Linked DNA regions of Homo sapiens: regions 1 and 3 are each linked to region 2. The links are contacts of gene promoters, found by promoter capture Hi-C in blood cells and fetal thymus (Javierre and others, 2016). All regions are on one chromosome and are shown on one strand. The core of a region is centred on a gene start or on the middle of the fragment in contact, and the rest is flanking DNA. Distances in the headings are between cores, read along the strand shown.

What was found. Contacts are between HindIII fragments. The CHiCAGO score rates a contact against its expected background, and 5 or more counts as called.
Region 1: a contact is called between a fragment that was not itself captured here and the fragment with the promoter of ORC2 in region 2, in 5 of 17 cell types (neutrophils, erythroblasts, megakaryocytes and 2 more). The highest score is 9.2, in neutrophils.
Region 3: a fragment that was not itself captured here is called in contact with the fragment with the promoter of ORC2 in region 2 in 5 of 17 cell types (neutrophils, monocytes, M1 macrophages and 2 more); the score reaches 12.9 in neutrophils.

Annotation. Positions count from the first base shown.
Region 1 is chr2:201,097,560-201,100,306 of GRCh38, forward strand. No RefSeq gene overlaps it. Among named protein-coding and RNA genes, the nearest start is that of CFLAR, 17 kb to the right of the region's middle. The HindIII fragment of the contact is 8,067 bases long and covers 1-2,747 here.
Region 2 is chr2:200,962,239-200,964,938 of GRCh38, forward strand. ORC2 (origin recognition complex subunit 2) reads right to left here and starts at 1,422. Exons shown (of 18, transcript NM_006190.5): 1 at 1,252-1,422. LOC105373835 (a long non-coding RNA gene) reads left to right here and starts at 1,194. Exons shown (of 3, transcript NR_187976.1): 1 at 1,194-1,392. RefSeq lists an enhancer at 655-724 and a silencer at 1,433-1,831. The HindIII fragment of the contact is 10,169 bases long and covers 1-2,700 here.
Region 3 is chr2:201,204,995-201,207,837 of GRCh38, forward strand. CASP10 (caspase 10) reads left to right here. Exons shown (of 10, transcript NM_032977.4): 7 at 888-979. Among named protein-coding and RNA genes, the nearest start is that of CASP10, 23 kb to the left of the region's middle. The HindIII fragment of the contact is 4,768 bases long and covers 1-2,843 here.

The DNA.
Region 1 (2,747 bases), core at 159-2,658, 140 kb after region 2:
TATTTTTAGTAGAGACGGGGTTTCACCGTTTTAGCCGGGATGGTCTCGATCTCCTGACCTCATGATCCGCCCGCCTCGGCCTCCCAAAGTGCTGGGATTACAGGCGTGAGCCACCGCGCCCGGCCAAATCAACTTTTATGGAGCAATAAATTCCCCTTTTAGTTGACCATCTAAGGTCGATCTTGCTGGGTATGGTAGCACATGACTGTAATCCCAGTTACTTGGGAGCCTGAGACAGGAGAATCACTTGAACCCAAGAGGCAGAGGTTGCGGGAGCCAAGATCACACCACTGCGCTCCAGCCTGGGTGACAGAGCGAGACTCCATTTCAAACAAACAAACCAAAAAAAAACATTGGTGACCTCCGGGGAGCGGGGACCACCAGGTTGACCAAGGAGGGATGAACCTGGGAGGTGAACTGGCCCAGATCAGAAATAGAGCAGGTCAAAAACTCCTGTGCTGATCAGTAGTGGGATCTGCTTGTGATTAGCCACTGCACTGTAGCCTGGGCAACATAGTGAGACCTTGTCTATTAAAAAAAAATAAAAATAAAAAAAATAAAAAAAATAAAAAAAAAAATAAAGTCAATCATTTAAAAAAGAAAGAAACACAGTTGGGTGCGGTGGCTCACACCTGTAATCCCAGCACTTTAGGAGGCCGAGGCAGGCAGATCACGAGGTCAGAAGATTGAGACCATCCTGGCTAACACAGTGAAACCCTGTCTCTACTAAAAATACAAATATTAGCCGGGCATGGTGGCAGGCGCCTGTAATCCCAACTATTCTGGAAGCTGAGACAGGAGAATTGCTTGAACCTGGGAGGCAGAGGTTACAGTGAGCCGAGATTGTGCCACTGCACTCCAGCCTGGGTGACAGAGAGAGATTCCATCAGAAGGAAGGAAGGAAGGAAAGGGAGGGAGGGAGGGAGGGAGCGAGGGAGCCCAGGCACAGACAGTGGTTCATGCCTGTAATCCCAGCACTTTGGGAGGCCGGGGTGAGGTGAGAGGAGCACTTGAGCCCAGGAGTTCAAGGTTTCAAGGTTATAGCATGCCAACACTGCACTCCAGCCTGGGTGACAGAATAGGACTCTATCTCTTAAAAAAAAAAAAAAAAGAAAAAGAAAAGTCAGATAAAGAGTAACTGAGAAAATAAACACACAACAGGTTTTGAAGGAGTTTTATAATATGTAACTTTTCCATCAATGCACACCACCATTTTTTTTTTTTTTTTTTTTGAGATGGAATCTCACTCTGTCACCCAGGCTGGAATGCAGTGGCACGATCTTGGCTCACTGCGAACTCCGCCTCCCGAGTTCATGCCATTCTACTGCCTCAGCCTCCCGAGTAGCTGGGACTACAGGCACCCGCCACCACGCCCAGCTAATTTTTTGTACGAGGTTTCACCTTGTTAGCCAGGATAGTCTCAATCTCCTGACCTCGTGATCTGCCCGCCTCAGCCTCCCAAAGTGCTGGGATTACAGGCATGAGCCCCTGCACCCAGCCCCTCCCCCACTTTTTTTTTGAGACGGAGTCTTGCTCTGTCGCTCAGGCTGGAGTGCAGTGGCATGATCTTGGCTCACTGCAACCTCTGCCTCCCAGGTTCAAGCAATTCTCCTGCCTCAGCCTCCCGAGTAGCTGGGACTACAGGCGCGCCCCACCATGCCTGGCTAATTTTTGTATTTTTTTTTTAGGAGAGACGGGGCTTCACCATGTTGGCCAGGCTGGTCTTGAACTCCTGACCTTGTGATCCGCCCACCTCAGCCTCCCAAAGTGCTGGGATTACAGGCGTGAGCGACTGTGCCCAGCCACTTATTAGAATTTTTAAGCAAGGAGGAGCCGGGTGCGGTGGCTCATGCCTGTAATCCCAGCACTTTGAGAGGCAGAGCCGGGACGATTACCTGGGGTCAGGAGTTCGAGACCAGCCTGACCAATATGGTGAAACATGGTCTCTAAAGACAAAAAGTTAGCCAGGCGTGGTGGCACACGCCTGTAATCCCAGCTGCTTGGGAGGCTGAGGCAGGAGAATCAATTGAACCTGGGAGGCAGAGGTTGCAGTGAGCTGAGATTGTGCCATTGCACCCCAGCCTGGGCAAGAAAAGTGAAAACTCTGTCTCAAAAAAAGAAATAAATAATTTTTAAGTAAGGAGAATTACTATTTCAATTTCACATCTTGGCTATATTTTGACAAAGGAGATAATACTCCTGTAAGAGTATAGCAATATAGCAACAATCGCCTGTCCCAAGCCAGGAATCAATCAGTGTTCCTCTCCCCATCTCCACCCCAATCTCAAGAACCTTTTACTTCCCAACTAAACAACACAATTGGCAAATGAAGCCTGTGTGAAACCTGTATCAAAAACCAATAAGAGAGCCTGCAGCGAACCAATGTGTTACGCAGCTACTCTCGTAAATGATTACTTGGCCTCTCATAGACTTCTCAGCAGAAGATGGACCTTTATATCCTGGTGGAAAGACTAATTTAATATTTCTGAGCATTTATTTCTAATGCTATAATATTTCTAAACATTACATCATTATTTTCCGCCTTCCACTATCCTTTAAGGGCAATTAATTATTCTTGCTAAGGGGAATAAATGGCATAACAAAATTATAATTCCAAAAAGTGACAAAATCTAAAACAACAAAGTGGTTTTGCATATGCAGTCTTGGTTGAGATTGTAGTGGGTTGATTGGCCACATGATCAGAAATTTATTTCTGGAAAATTTTCACAGAAAAATGGGTAGGAATG
Region 2 (2,700 bases), core at 172-2,671:
ATTATGACCCCTCAAGGCACTGCCTTGGTGCTTATAGGCCAACCCCTTTCAAGGAGTTACTTCAAGGCAATTCTGCAGCACCAAGTGTTAGCATTGCACCAAGTGGTAGCAACACACTCTCCTTTGAAAACAAATAAAAGATTTGCTGTAATTTTTAAAAACATAATCCTTTGAAAAAGAAGGTTGGATAGATTAGTGGTTAAACACCAATTTTAATATTGGAGAAACCTGAGTTCCAATCTCCACTCCATACTTTATAACTGTGTGACTTTGTCCAAAGTCCTGACGATTAAATGAAATGATGTGCCTGATATATAAAAGAGCATCACTGAATGCTCCCAATTATCGGTATTTTTACTTTAACCTTTTTCTTTTTTAGCTCCTTACTGCAGTGCACTGAGATATTTTTACTTTAAACTTCAACTTAACCATGCAGATCTCTTGTACATCTCTAACTCATTCAACATCTAACAGAAAAACTGCTCAATAAGTGATGATGTCCGTTTAACGTGCAGTGCCCTTATATAACGGTGTAGGGCCGTGCTATTTTTCTTCAGATTGCAATTTAACTGCGGGAAAGTGTAATGATTCTATTAGGATTTCAATTGTAAAATGAAAAGTAACGTCTCAACATCTTTTTAATTAAAAAGCTCTACCAAAAGAGCCTGGCTTATCAACATTTTACAGCCAAGCATGGCTCCAAGGTGACCGATCAGTTAGCTGGCAGGACACATTGGTGCCTCCAGGCTGGGATGACATCAAAGGTTCTAGCTACAGTGGTTCTGGGACGCGATCTCTTCCTCTTCATACCTCACAGGGCACTTTACCACTGTCGTTACACATCTTCACAGTTCTCCTTTTCCAACCAGAGGGCTTCGTAAGCTGGGAATCAGGTAGGTTAGTATCAGGCGTCCCTTGCACAAAAGGCCTATAACTGCGGGGCAGACTAACGAAAGGTCCTCCCAGAGTGAGCCTCTCACCTCAAGTCTTAAAGGACTTTGGCCTGCGCCTCCAGCCTCTGGCCAGTTGGCTGCGCTCCACCAGTAAGGGTTCTCGAGCCCCCGGGCAGCCTGCGGGGGGCAGCGAGGCGCAAAGACCATGCCCCAAGTGCCGAGGGAAAGTCCTGAGATGCGCGACTTGGGACGCTAGGGGCCAAGCTCCGACGCGGGGCTGGGTGCACCTGGACGCACCTCACACGCCGCGAGCTAAGCAGAAAAGGGAGGCAGGCTGCCCCGACACCCCACTACTCACCGCTAGGTTTCCGTCTGGCGCCGATCCGGCTGCGTCACGCCGGCCGAACGACACCCCGCTGAGTCGCCGCCGCAGGGAAGGTACCTTCGGCCCCAACGGGAAAAGCCAATTTCCAGTAATTCGCGCCCGACCACCGGGGAGGTAAGGAGCACCGGAGGCCAGCTGGGGGATGGGAAGCCTGCGTGCGGCACACCGAATCTCCCGCCCTGTTCAGGGGGCGGTGCCCGAGGAAGCCAATAGGAAGAGGAGTCGGCCAAGAGCGACGGCTCTGCCGTCCAGTCGGCGCCGGCCATTCGGCCCCGCCCATCAGGAAACCTGAGGAAAACGGATTCTTGGGCCCTGAGTTGTGGGCCTTACCTTTCCTTTCTTCTTTCCGTTTCCGGGGAAGGGAAAAGGAAGTGTTGTTTGGATCTGAGGAAGTTTGCACAGTAGCTGGCTGAGTGGTAGCTGTTTGTCTTGTAGCAATCTTTAAAAAGTGTTCTTTGGGGTCGGGCGCAGTGTCTCACGCCTCTAATCCCAGCACCTTGGGAGGCCGAGGCGGGCGAATCACCTGAGGTCGGGAGCTCGAGACCAGTCTGACCGACATGGAGAAACCCCGTCTCTCCTAAAAATACAAAATTAGCCGGGCGTGGTGGCGCATGCCTGTAATACTAGCTACTCGGGAGGCTGAGGCAGGAGAAACGCTTGAACCCGGGAGGCGGACGTTGCAGTGAGCCGAGATCGAGCCATTGCATTCCAGCCTGGGCAACAAGAGCGAAACTCCGTCTCAAAAAAAAAAAAAAAAAAAAAAAAAAGTGTTCATTGGTTTCCCAGCTACCTTTTGAAGAAAAAGGTAATGGAAATTGATTCGCATTTCTTTTTTAAAGATTTTCTTCATTTGGCGTGAAAGGTAGGATCTTGTACATCTCCAGGGTTTGGGGTAGGGAGAAGAAGAGACGTTAGGAGAAGCACTGAATATGGAGATGGGATCGGACGGCTAGTGGGATGAAGAGGCTGGGGAAATAGAATGAATAGACAGAGAAAATGATTGACTTCAACTATCCAAAATATAAAAAAGACAAGACAGAGAAAATGAGGAAGAAAAGGAATGAACCTGGATGGGATCCATACAGTATTAAGAACAGGGTATTGTTTCATTTGGATTCACTTACTCAAAACAAAACTACAGAGTACTCTGCGAACAGAAGATAAGTATTCATTATCGAGCGAGACAACTACGATCTCTGCATTCACTGTAGTTACCTAGCACGTGAAGATATTGAACGGACAATATTGAGAAAAATACCATGATATGGGAAGTGCATTGGAGCACATGGTAGGAGTAGCTAATTAAAAGCCCAGAAGGAGTCAGGAACAATTTTCTAGGAGGAAGAGATGTTTAAACTGAAACCCCTGTGTTGAATAGATTTAAAACAGGCCAAGAGGGGTAAAATTTTCCAGGTAGAAGGT
Region 3 (2,843 bases), core at 4-2,503, 240 kb after region 2:
AGTTTGGTGGGTTCTACTACAAACTTCCTGTGAGTGGAAAAAGAAAACTGTTTGATGTTACATTTTCCTGTTAGTGCCATGTGACAAATAATGCATTGCTGACTTTCTCTCTGTGATAGAGTCTTTTCCAGAGGAATCAGGGAGTTGGCAGGAACACTTCAAAGCAGTGTGATCCTCAGTCGATGCCCAACTGGAACTTTCTTTTTCCCCTCTTTTTTCTTTTCTTTTCTTTTCTTTTTTTTTTTTTTGAGACAGGGCCTCACTCTGTTGCCTAGGCTGGAGTGCAGTGGTGTAATCACAGCTCACTGCAGCCTTGACCCCTCGGACTCAGGTGATCCTCCCACCTCAACGTCCCAGGAAGCTGGGACTACAGGCAATGTGTCACCATGCCCAGCTAATTTTTTGTATTTTTTTTTTCTAGAGATGGGGTCTCACTAAGTTGTCCAGGCTGGTCTTGAACTCCTGGGCTCAAGCGATCAGCCCGTCTTGGCCTCCCAAAGTGCTGGGATTACAGGCATGAGCCACCACGCCCAGCCTCCCTCTTTTTCCTTCTCTAGGGAAGAGGTCCACCTAGCCTCTTTATATCCAGTGACATAAATGCTGACTCAATCCAACCATACTTGAGCTGGAAGCCTTGAGCTGATCCATGGGATCTTAATTAATTCCCCACCCAATCCCTGCCAGCAGCATAGTTTCCAACCCAGACAAAGCAAAAAAGAATGCGAAGACACATCAGTCTCTCCCATCAGGAAGGGCATGGTGGCTGAATTTGTCTCAGGAGGGCCTTGAGAGAAGCATAATTCTCCAGAATTAGATGCGAAAATTATCAGTGAAGAAATCTAAGTGCTTGGGGAAGATATTTGGAGTCTGAGTACCTCTCTTTCTAGGTAACAGAGCCACAAATGGTGCACCAAGCCTGGTCTCCAGGGGGATGCAAGGAGCATCTGCTAACACTCTAAACTCTGAAACCAGCACAAAGGTCTGGATGGTTTCTTTTATTCCTTTTTTAATAAAAAAATTTTTTTTCCAAATTTAATCAAAAGGACGGTTTCTTTAGGGGCTCTCTCCCTAGGGTCCAGCCTTCGATGATTTTAAGGGCTCCGAGCTGTTTGTTTCAGACTTGTTTCTCCCTCTCTCTGTAATTATCTCTGTTCTTCCCACCTTTTTCTGTATCAATCAGAAGTGACTGATCCCTTTGACTGTGGAGGAAATGCTGTTACACTTTGAGTCATGCATACCCTTTGGGTTATTTCTGGAGAGGGGTAGTTTCTTTTCTTATCCATTGAAGCCACTTGTTTTCTGCTTGGATAAAGATGTACCACGATTTCAAGGATGATTTTAGCTGCCCAGAGGCTCTGCTAAAGCCAGCTCAGCTAATTTGCAATCACATGCTGTTTACAATAGCCTTAAAAAATAATTGCACATGTTTTTAAATTCCTACTGTGAATATATATATATATTGAATTTTAAAAATTGAATATACAGCCATCTTTATATACATATGAATATATATCAGCCATCTTTATATATATATGAATATATATGTGTATATATATACTTTATTTATAAGTATACTTTATATATATATACTTATATATTAAGTGTATATATATATATACACACACTCATATATATATTCACATATATATAAAGATGGCGGTCTCACTGTGTTGCCCAGGCTTGTCCTGAACTCTCAGGCTCAAGGAATTCTCCTGCCTCAGCCACCCAAGTACCACCATGCCAGCTTGTATATTATTTTTATATTCAGAAATAAAATTACAAAAGATTTCCCTTTTTTGAAGGCATTAGATCACTCCAGAAATGAACCATCTGAAAAAAATCTTTGATATTTATGTTGTCTCATGAAATCCTTGTGTATGCTTTCTTCATTCATGTTGCTAATATGAAAGTGAAGATGCTTTTGCATAAACCCTGGGTTTGACAATATTAAAATATATATTCCATTTTCTTAACTGTCATGATTGAGCTTCTCCAGCCAAACCAGGTGAAGTCTGAATTTTAATCAGGATCTGGCATTTCACCTTGGAATTAATTAGCTAATTCCACACTAGGGCCAGGATCTTGAGAACTCTCTGCCTCTGATACTGGGAGTGGCATCCTGAAAGAAAGGAACTGTCTAATCTTTAGTGCAAATGAGATTTATCCTTTGTCCTGGGCTCTAGGACTTAAAAAAGAATCTTTGAAATTTTATTCAGATCACAATTGTGCAGTAAAAGTGAGTTGCAGAGTAGTCAGAATCCCCAGTTTTTCAATATGTGACTTCAGAAATAATGTGGCATAAATACCCCAAGGGGTTTAGACTAGAGTATAAAAACATGGTTTTGGACAGGCATGGTGGCTCATGCCTGTAATCCTAGCACTTTGGGAGGCTGAGGTGGGCGAATCACTTGAGGTCAGGAGTTCAAGACCAGCCTGGCCAACATGGTGAAACTCTACCTCAACCAAAAATACAAAAATTATCGGCTGGGCGCGGTGGCTCATGCCTGTAATCCCAGCACTTTGGGAGGACGAGGTGGGCGGATCACAAGGTCAAGAGATCAAGACCATCCTGGCCAACATAGTGAAACCCCGTCTCTACTAAAAATACAAAAATTACCTGGGCATGGTGGCGGGCGCCTGTAGTCCCAGCTACTCGGGAGGCTGAGGCAGAAGACTCGCTTGAACCCAGGAGGTGGAGGTTGCAGTGAGCTGAGATCACGCCATTGCACTCCAGCCTGGGTGACAGAGCGAGATGCTGTCTCAAAAAAAAAAAAAAATTATCTGGGGGTGTTGGTGGGCACCTGAGGCAGGTGGATCCCTTGAATCCGGGAGGCAGAGGTTGC